2 separate regions of the Homo sapiens genome follow, and region 2 is linked to region 1. The links are contacts of gene promoters, found by promoter capture Hi-C in blood cells and fetal thymus (Javierre and others, 2016). All regions are on one chromosome and are shown on one strand. The core of a region is centred on a gene start or on the middle of the fragment in contact, and the rest is flanking DNA. Distances in the headings are between cores, read along the strand shown. Region 1 holds the start of PTPRK-AS1 (PTPRK antisense RNA 1). Region 2 overlaps THEMIS (thymocyte selection associated).

What was found. The method cuts DNA at HindIII sites, captures the fragments that hold promoters and counts their contacts. A CHiCAGO score of 5 or more calls a contact.
Region 2: a contact is called between a fragment that was not itself captured here and the fragment with the promoter of PTPRK-AS1 in region 1, in 2 of 17 cell types (naive CD8 T cells and total CD8 T cells). The highest score is 8.2, in naive CD8 T cells.

Annotation. Positions count from the first base shown.
Region 1 is chr6:128,024,319-128,029,705 of GRCh38, forward strand. It overlaps PTPRK-AS1 (PTPRK antisense RNA 1), which reads left to right and starts at 3,547. Exons shown (of 5, transcript NR_125849.1): 1 at 3,547-3,605. All of the region lies in intron 13 of PTPRK (protein tyrosine phosphatase receptor type K), which reads right to left. The HindIII fragment of the contact is 8,791 bases long and covers 1-5,387 here.
Region 2 is chr6:127,888,566-127,893,857 of GRCh38, forward strand. All of the region lies in intron 1 of THEMIS (thymocyte selection associated), which reads right to left. Among named protein-coding and RNA genes, the nearest start is that of THEMIS, 9.8 kb to the right of the region's middle. The HindIII fragment of the contact is 4,989 bases long and covers 1-4,531 here.

The sequences.
Region 1 (5,387 bases), core at 2,297-4,796:
GATGTTCTCAATATAAGATTATGTTGCTATGGCATCAACAAACCATGATCTTATGAATCAATTCTCTTATTTACCAGGATCATTTTTAAGGAAAATAAAAAATTACTGGTTCTCTATTACATGTTTACATTTATGATAAATGTAAATTTAGCACTAAGTATGAAAATTAGTAATTTGACATTTTCTTAGTGTACAAAATGAGACCTATGGCCAGGCATGGTGGCTCACGCCTGTAATCCCAGCACTTTGAGAGGCTGAGGCAGGCAGATCACTTGAGGTCAGGAGTTCAAGACCAGCCTGGCCAACATGGTGAAACCCCATCTCTACTAAAAATACAAAAAATTAGCTGGGCATGGTGGCAGGCACCTATAATCCCAGCTACCTGGGAGGCTGAGACAGGAGAATTGCAACCTCCTGGGAGGCAGAGGTTGCAGTGAGCCGAGATCGTGGCACTGCACTCCAGCCTGAGTAACAGAGCAAGATTCCTTTTCAAAAACAAAAACAACAACAACAACAAACCAGGCCTATATTGTAATCACTGATAATTGCTAGAATTTATCATTAGATTTTTCAGGATCATTAGATTTTTCAGCAATATAGTTTTGCAATTTATTAACATGTACCAAAAGAATGAATATGAGAGAATAGAATGTAAATTGTAATATTTACCTTTTCAACTAAGATCACACAGTACTAGTTTATTTTGCAGTACAACAAGTTTGTCTTTGACATATGTGGAATAAATTCTACAAAGCTGAAAGAATTTGCCAGTCCTTTTAAATTAAGATTATCTCAAGCTATTTCCAAATCCTCAACAAACTGAAACATGGTTTTTGCATTCTGCATGTAGGAATGTGGCTGACAACAAAGATTTGCATAAGACACTCCACTCTCTCCCTGTGAGGCCAAGTTTTGTATTCCTTCATTAGTTTGTATGAATTCATATAACGAAGTCTCTGGCTCAGACAGATTGTTTTCTCTAACTTTTGTTATATGAAGATTATTTCAGCTGAACCTGAAAGGAGACACACATTCTTATACATCTTTTGCAAAATTGTCCTACCTTATAGAGGAAGAATAAGTAAACACATTTAAATCAAGATGAAAATCAATAGTTTGTAGATTAGAAAACCCTGGTTCTATCTAGCTCAAATAAGATCAAATGCTGACTTAACAACTGCATCTAAAAGAAAAAGTCATAAAATAATTTTCTATGTCTGTATTAGTTTCTCAAGGCCACTGCAGAAAACTGCCACACACTTGATGGCTAAAAACCACACATATTTATTCTCTTACAGTTCTGGGAACTAGAGGGCCCCAAAGCAGTATCACTGGGCCAAAATCAAGGTGTCAGTAGGGTTACCCTCGCTGCTGAGGCTCTAGAAGAGAACTCATTCCTTGCCTTTTCCAGCTACCAGTGCTGCTGGCATTCCTTGACTTGGGGTTACATGACTCCAGTCTCTACCTCTGTGGTCACATTGACTTCTCCTCTGTCAAATCTTCCTCTGCTTTGCTCTTATAAGAATACATGTAACTGGATTTAGGGCCCACACTGTTAATCCAGTATAATCTACCTTGTCAAGATCCTTTACTTAATCACATTTGCAAAGACCGCTTTTCCCTAAAAGATAACATTTACAGCTTATTGGGATTAGGACCTGGTATCTTCCAGTAGCCATTATTCAGCCTACTAAAATCTATATGCTTTCCAATGTATTTTTAAACAGAATTTTTCAAGGTATAGGCTTTAAAAAATTAAGAGAATCCCAAGAGATCTAAACAGTAAGAGAGAGAGGCCTAAGTGATGATATTGAGTGGTATTGAACAAAATAAGACAAAGAAGATCATCTGCCATATTTGACAGATGTTGGTAGACAACATCTTCTCTTCATGTTCCGTTGTTTGTAATTTGTTTTTACTGCTACCAGAACCTCTTACAATTCTCTACTCACTCATGTAAATACTAGCTGCAGAAGGTCTGGCAAAACTTTCTCCTATTTGTATATGTGTAAAGTGGTCTTTCCCTTACATCAAGTTAAAGAAAAAATACAGTTGTAATAGCTACTTCCCAATAGCCAAAGGGTTGTATTTGAAAGAGGGATGAAAATCACTCCAGGTACCAAGAAAAACTACTGTGTGATCTGGGACAAGTTATCTGCTTTTTTTGAGACCCACTTTTCTCATCTTTACAATGAAATAACTAAATTCTGCTCTCTAGGCTTGTTCTGAAGATTACTGAATATACATTTAAAGTACCTAGAAGTATTTGACACATAGCAGGAACTTAATATACAATTACTGGTATTACTATTAAGGATTAAGAAAGCACTGGCATGCAACATATTATATATTTGACAAGATTACATCATCTTGAAAAAATATAAGAAGTATTCTTTTTGTATAGTACTTTAAGGAGGATATTATTCATTTTATATCATTTTCCTTCTCACTGTGATATGTAGAATATATCACACCAAAATTGTGGTTGACCCAACACTCCAACCAGTGTCCTATTTTATTCACTCTGTATTTCTTAATCTATTCAATAAATATTACTAAATCCATTTGCTGTGCTAGATGCTGAGGGAGGTGTGTGACACAGCCTGTAGTCTAGTAGGGGAGGTAGGCATTAAATAATTAACTCCAGTCAATTTCAGTGCTATATATGAAAAAGACAATTCACTCCTTTTTATGACTTGACTTACAGCTCACAGTGCCCAGAAAACTGGGATTCTTGATAGAATGCGCCACATATATCCTAATTAGCAACAATCACTAGTTTGGCCCCATAATGTACATACCTAACACACACTTTCACAGGCAAGAGAAGAAAATACCTATCATCATATTATGATCAAAGTATTTTGAAGTAAAAATACTTCCTCATTATTTCTTAGAATACTGCATACAGCAATTCCTTTAAAAGCAGACTCTACTAGCATGTTTCCCACTGAACAGAACTGTTTGTCCATTTAACCAAAAGGTATTTATTGCCCGGGAATTCATTAGTTCATTATTTGAAGAAATACGTATATTGGGCAAGAATGTAAATCAGGCTGTTTAGTTATCACATGAAAATGCATAAAACAGTACCCACATTCAAAGAGTTCAAAGAGTCCTTCAGGAAATCAGGTGCCTAAAAGTCAAACTGACCTTTAAAAAAAAAATGTTCATAGCTTCCTCTGTTAAATGAATGATCGTTTCAGAGCTTTCTAAATGCCAAACTCTTTTAATATATTATTTCAATTAGCTTTCACAAGCACTTATGAGGCTTGTTGTATGTTTTTTTTTTCCTTTGAGACAGAGTCTTGCTCTGTCACCGAGTCTGGAGTGCAGTGGAGCCATCTCAGGTTACTGCAACCTTCTCCTGGGTTCAAGCAATTCTCCTACCTCAGCCACCCGAGTAGCTGGGACTACAGGCGTGTGCCACTGTGCCTGACTAATTTTTGTTTTTAGTAGAGACGGGGTTTCACTCTGTTGGCCAAGTTGGTGCGTACTCCTGGCCTCAAGTGATCCGCCCACCTTGGCCTCCCAGAGTGCTGGGATTACAGGCATAAGCCACTGTGCCCAGCTGTATCTTCTTTTACCGATGAGGACACTGACAGGTTGGTATCACCTCTTTCCTAGTCTATATTGCAGCCACTCCCTTATTGAAGTTTCTGACTCCAAGTCCTACTCATCCTAATCTACCTGCAGCTTTTAAGGTGTCATTTTTCTAAAACTTAAATATGATCCTATCATTGTTCTTCTTAATAGCCTACAAAGATTTCAGGGAAAATGAAAATGACGAATATAAATTATACTGCACACACTATTTATAATAATATTTAGCCACTTAAAATTAAAACACATAAAAATGTGGGTAAAGCTCATGGTAAAATAGTAACTACAAATAATTACAAGTCACAATCTTTGCAATTATGAGAAATGTTTAAGTAAGCACCTGATAAAAAAAAGGAAAAAGCAAAAGTGATAACAGTTGCTTAGAATATTGTTTCAGAACACCTTTTAAGGTTACCACACTGTTTTAATTTTTAAAGTGGAAGAGAAAGTGCTTTAGCACTGTTGATAGCTGCCACCCTGCCCTCAAGATAAAGTGAATCTTGAGTCTTACAGCCCTTTCTCATATCTGTATCAACATACATTTTAGCCTAATTTCTTACTAACTCCTCAGTATATTCTTGAACACTGCATTAACTTTCATGTCTAACTGCAAACCTCTGCCCATGCTGTTACCAGTGTGGATATGGTCTCTGGTTTTTCTACCTATTTAAATGTCACTTTGTATGGAATTCTATTTCATGTTTAGGCACACTGCATGAAATTATTACTTCAACTATCAGGTTCTTTCACAATTCACAACTTCTTGAGAGCATGGAACATATCCTATGTATTTTTAGTATTTTCTCAATGCCTAGTGTAAGACATATGGCAGAGAGTAAGTGTGCAACAAAATTGTGTTAATATTCATATTTTTCATAAGTGAAAACAATTTTTTTGTTGATATGATGCTTTGATGGTTTCTGATTTAAGGTTAGGATGTTAAACGGACTCTATTTTTACATGACCATAATTCTACTCCCCAATTCTGTTCCTAAATCTTTAGTGAGCTAAGAATTCAGATTCATGGTAAGGTTAGAATTGTGCTGGACTGCTTGTGACTTCAACTATCCATCTTCCATGGTCAGTTCTTGATCAACTGATACAGTTTGGGTGTTTGTGCCCTCCAAATCTCATGCTGAGATGTATTCCCCAATGCTGGAGATGGGACTTGGTGGGAGGTTTTTGGTTTTGGGGGTTGGCTCTCTCACGAATGCCTTGGTGCCATCCTCACAGTAATGAGTGTTCTTGTGAGATCTGGTTGTTTAAAGAGTGTGGACCTTCCCTCTCCTGTCTCCCTCTCTTGCCAAGTGATACATGGTTCCCCTTCACCTTCTGCCATGATTGTAAGCTCCCTGAGGCCCTCACCAGAAGCAGATGCCAGCACTACGCTTCCTCTACAGCCTGCAGAACCATGAACCATTTAAACCTCTTCTCTTTATAAACTACCCAGTCTCTGACTGCATGCAGTGGCTCACACCTGTAATCCCAGCACTCTGGGAGGCTGAGGCAGGTGGATCATTTGAGTTCAAGACCAGCTTGGCTAACATGGTGAAACCCGATCACTACTAAAAATACAAAAATTAGCTGGACAGGGTGGCGGGCACCTGTAATCCGAGCTACTGGGGAGGCGAGGCAGAAAAATCACTTGAACCTAAGAAGCAGAGGTTGTAGTGCCAATGCACTCCAGCCTGGGTGACAGAGTGAGATTCCATCTCAAAATAATAATAATAATAATAATAATAATAATAATAATAATAATAATAATAATCCAGCCTCACATATTA
Region 2 (5,292 bases), core at 787-3,286, 140 kb before region 1:
CTGTTTGGTGGCATTATGGGTAATTATGCATTTCTGCATTTATAAAATTACCAACCATGCACATGTGTTTTTCTAAAGCAAAAAAAAATTAATATCCAGCTCTTCAAAAGAGATCATAATGCAAACCAATTTTGTTTTTTGCCAAATTTTTAAATCAACACCAAAATGGCTACATATACAAAGTCAACAGGGGTAAATGGTAATGTTAGCAATATGAAGAGTAGTTAAAGAAGCAACAGATGCTTCCTGAATAGAGTGATAAAATCACTTTCTTATGAACATGTGGTAGCATTATTACCCAAGTAACTTCCCTGACATTATATGACTCTCTTTAGAATATGCCTGGTTTTGAATTTTTTGAAGTTGATAATAACTTCAGTTCCAGTCATAATAAAAATAATTTATTGTATCAGTGAGAGAAGTGTAGCTTATATTAAGATAACAACTTCAAAATCTCAGAGATTAAACAATAAAGTATATTTCTTATTTCACTACATGTCAGGTACAGGTGGATGAGGACATGTTCTCTGCTAATTATAGTCACTTAGCAACATAGGCTATTGAAGATTTCATTTTGACATAGTCTACCATGATGAAATATGTTTAATTATGAACTGGTTCTTAAAGTATCTGTTCCAAATTATACATATTATTTTTGTTCTCAGTACATTTGCCAATACAAGTCATGTGATCATGTGACCACAAAAGGGTTGGGAAGTACAAGCATACCATGTACTCAAAAGAGGTGGAAAAGTGGAATAGATGAACACCATTTTTTTCCTCAGATTTGTTCTTTGGTTATAAACTGCTCACTTAAAGAACTGAAGAGGACAAGATAGCACAAGTCAATTTATCTATGGCATATGTCATACATAATTATCCACAGCTTTAATCTGAGAGGGACTCATAACATCAATTGTGTTAGCTCCTTGCAGGGATCTCTAAATTGGGCCACATATTCCAAAGAGTATTACAAGATATGAGGTTAAAGTGGAAAATAGTAGAACTTCGTATTCATTTCCACATAAAACAAATAAGAAAACTAAACTATACTAATATTTAACAGAAAGAGTTATATTAGTTAATTTCAAGGTTGCTAGTATTTAATATTAAAAATCCTAATTTATCTCTGCATCGGATAGTCATATGACATGTATGGTAAGTCACATACTAAGATAGATTGGGAATTTCAAAAAATGAGTTAAAGGAATTGTTTTAATTCATTCATTTACTTTCAATATACTACAACATAATGCAGGTGAAGTTAAGTTGATTTAAGAATTGTTATAATCTAATTCTATCTATACTCACTCTCACAAAATAGACATAACGTCACAAGATGCCAACACAGACATTTGAGAATTAAAGATTGCAGGCCCTATCAAGAAGAAAATGATAGAGTGACACGTCTTCTATTAGCACAATCTTGTCATTGTCTGCGTACAACTGCTATCTAATGAAACTGCCAAAATCAGATTTAGGAAGATTATTTCACAACATGAAATTTATGAAGATTATTTCACAGAGTGATAGCCACAAATATTAATGATAAACCTGCTGTATGAGTAGATTACATACAATGTATATTGGACCTTGATGAGGTATCTTCAATAGCTGTCATTCAAAACAAGCACTAAAATAAATTAATTAGAACCATTCGAATCACTGGGTCACATGATAATCAGCATTTTCCAAAACAGTATTCAGTAATAAAAACATGTAGTATTTTCAATAATTTTCAGTAACATGACTTCTGCTAAAAATAGATTGATAGTTAATATGTTTTATTCTCATTCATATGTGGTAGCTAAAAATATTGATCTCATGGAGGGAAGAGAGTAGAATGGTGGTTACCAGAGGCTAGAAAGGGTAGCGGGGAGAAGGGGGTGAAGTGAGATTGGTTAATGGATACAGAAATACAGTTAGCTAGAAGGAATAAAGCCTAGTGTTCAATAGCACAGTAGGGTGATCATAGTGAATAATAACTTATTGTCTATTTCAAAATAACTGGAAGAAAAAATTTGGAATAGTCCCAAAACAAAGAAATGATCAATGTTTGAGGTGAACAGTATCCTAATTACTCTAACTTGATCACGCTGTATGTATGAATCAAAATATTACATGTACCCCATAAATATGTACAATTATTATATATTAATTTAAAAACTAGCTAGTTGTTACAATAGAATTAACAGCTTTTGTGAGAAAAATAGTGTATATTATTAACAAAAATTAAAATTGTATATTATCAATTTTATCTTTCTTTTTTATAATTTTATTATTATGTATGCTTTGGAAGGAATATAAATATCAATAGAGAAATACATGTATGGAAAGCGGCATCCTCTTTTTTTAAATTGATGAGGTTTTTGATCAAATAAAGTCCTGATCAATTAGGTAATGGATAGGGCATTCCAACCACAAGCATCCTCTGTGCCCAAGTTGGATTTTTAATTGCCTAACTTGAAATATCCACTTGGCTGAGTAATAGATATTTATATTTAATATGTCCAAAACAAAACTTTTGTTTTTCTCACTAAAATCTCATCTTCCCCTGGTCTTCATGACTCTGTCAAATACACAAACATTTACCCAGTGGTTTAGGCCAAAATCTTGAATTCATCCTTTAGTCTTTTCATTTTCTCACCTCAATTTCAAATCCATTAGAAAGTCCTTACATTTCGGCCAGGCGCGGTGGCTCACACCTGTAATCCCAGCAGTTTGGGAGGCCAAGGCAGATGGATCACCTGAGGTCAGGAGTTCAAGACCAGCCTGATCAATATGGTGAAATCCTGTCCCTACTAAAAATGCGAAAAAATAATTAACCAGGCCTGGTGGCGGGCACCTGTAGTCCCAGCTACTCGTGAGACTGAGACAGGAAAATCGCTTGAATCCGGGAGGTGGAGGTTGCAGTGAGCTGAGATTGCGCCACTACATTCCAGTCTGGGTGACAGAAAGAGACTCCAGCTCAACAAAAAAAAAAAAAAAAAAGAAAGAAACAAAGAAAAAGAAAGTCCTGACATTTCTACCTCCAAAGCATCTCTTGAACTGTTCCTTTCTCTTCACACTAAATCAAGGCACCATCAACTCTCCTCTAGATTATTGCAGTCTCCTAATATATCATTCCACTTTTGCCTCACTAATGCCTGTTCTCCCCAAAATAGCCAGTGATCTTCCTCAAATGGCAATCAGGTCTTGTCAGTCTGCTGCTCAAACTGGTCATTGGCGTCTCATAAAACCCAAACTCCTTGAAATGCTCTTGCCCACTCCTTAAACCTCTTCTCATATGTTCTTCTCCCTGCTTTATATGTGCTCAAGGTACAGGGATATGTTTTCTCTTCCTCAAACAGACAAAGCTCCTTTTGGTCCCCAGATGTCTGCACTGTCTGTTCACTCTGGAACACTCCAGAACCTAGATCTTTCCTTGGCTGATTCCTTCTCAATATTCAAGTCTCTGCTCCAAAATCATTTCTTCAGAGTGGCCTTCCCTGACCACATTAGTTTACAGGTCCTACGGGTTTCCCAGCCCCACTCTGTACCACATTCAGTGTCACTCTGGCCTTCAAGGCCTACAAGGTCTGGGCCTGCCCACGCCTCAGTCTTTCTCCCACCATCCTTCCCCCAATTCCTTGCCTTCAGCACCACTGGGCTGCTCCCTGTTTCTTATCCAGACCAAGCAAGCTCTTCAGTAGTTTGCACTTGTTCTGTCCTCAGCAGGGATGTTCTTCCAGATGTGGGCAAGGCTTATTTCCTCAGTTTATTCAGGTCCCTGCTCAAATTTCATCAGAGATAATCTGCCCCGGTCACCCTATCAAAAGATCACCTTTCACCTCACCTTGCTTTACTCTCCAGTCAGTGCTTCATGACACTTGTATATATTCTAAATCTAGGTTTGTCATTTGTCCCATTTACTAGAATATAAGCTCCGAGAGGGGAGGGCTTTACTTTTTTTCCCAACTGTAATTCTAGACCCTTTGACAATGCCTGATAATGCATTATTAGGATGTATGTAAGCTATTCCATTCTAGGCTCGCTTAACATTTTTCTATAAAACATGCTTCTATGAGCATTCTAATATAATCATTATTTTGCTTTTTGTAATTGTATTTTAAAATTAATTTCTAGTGATTGGATGTTTATAAACATTTTTCTCTGTAGATAAATATTACCCAGTTGCAACCTCGAAAGTCTGTAACCGTTTACACATTACCAAGTGTGCCTCGGCTCCTTTCCACACATTCATGCCTACAATAACTTTTGTGAATCTTTTAATACCAGTGACCTGAAAGAGAAATAATGATTTATTGTTTCATTAGCATTGTTGATAGTAGATTTGAATTTTTTAATATTAGTATGGTATGTGAACTGCCTTTTACATCTTTATATTCACTTTTGTTTATTGTTATTTAGTAATTCCTTATACATTCAGGATATTTATAGTCTGTTTGCTCTATATTATGTAAATATTCCCCTTGTGTAGAGTTAGTCTTTCTTCCACATTTATGTAGTTTGGGTTTTTTTGGAATAAGGAAGCTTTTTATTTTATAAATTTAATTTTTTCACTTTGTAAAGTTTCAGTTTCACATTTTTATGTGGTTTCTTTAAATGGTTTTATTGTTAATGTTTTACTTTTTACTATTTTTCTTCATATTCAATTTATGTTGGTATATGTAACAGTAGAAAAATTCAAATCAGTTTTGTTTTAATTTTTGAAATAATTGACCAGTTTCTTTACAATATACCAGCATTAAGGTAATAATAATAATAGTTATGATTTACTGAAAGATTGATCTCAGCCAGTCATTTTGCTAAATTCTTTATATGCCATAGCTCAATTAATCTTCACATCATACCTCAAGGTTGTGATAAAACCTATTTTTTGTAACAAAGGACAAATGTTCAATGTTTTAAGTTGACCATGGAATCACCTCTCATTTATAACTTATCCAAGAGGCAGAGTCCTGAGTTTATAACCCACAATTCTGTGCTTCACATCAATAGGGCATAAACGCTTCACATCGATACGGCTCCTAAAATAATAAATGCTTGAGCAACATGTTCTTGTGATGAACATTCTCCCTATTATCACTGTGGTTGTCAACGGCGAGTATTCAATCCAATACTACAGAACCTCACATGATTTGACATCAGCCTCTTTCAAATTTCCTTAAACCTCCCATCCCCCAAAATTTGTCACAGAGTCATCATCACCACAGGACGGGTGGAATCTGGCTCCACTGCCTGAACTGAGACAAAAGGCAGAAAGAGGACAAAGAATATGTTTCCTTCCAC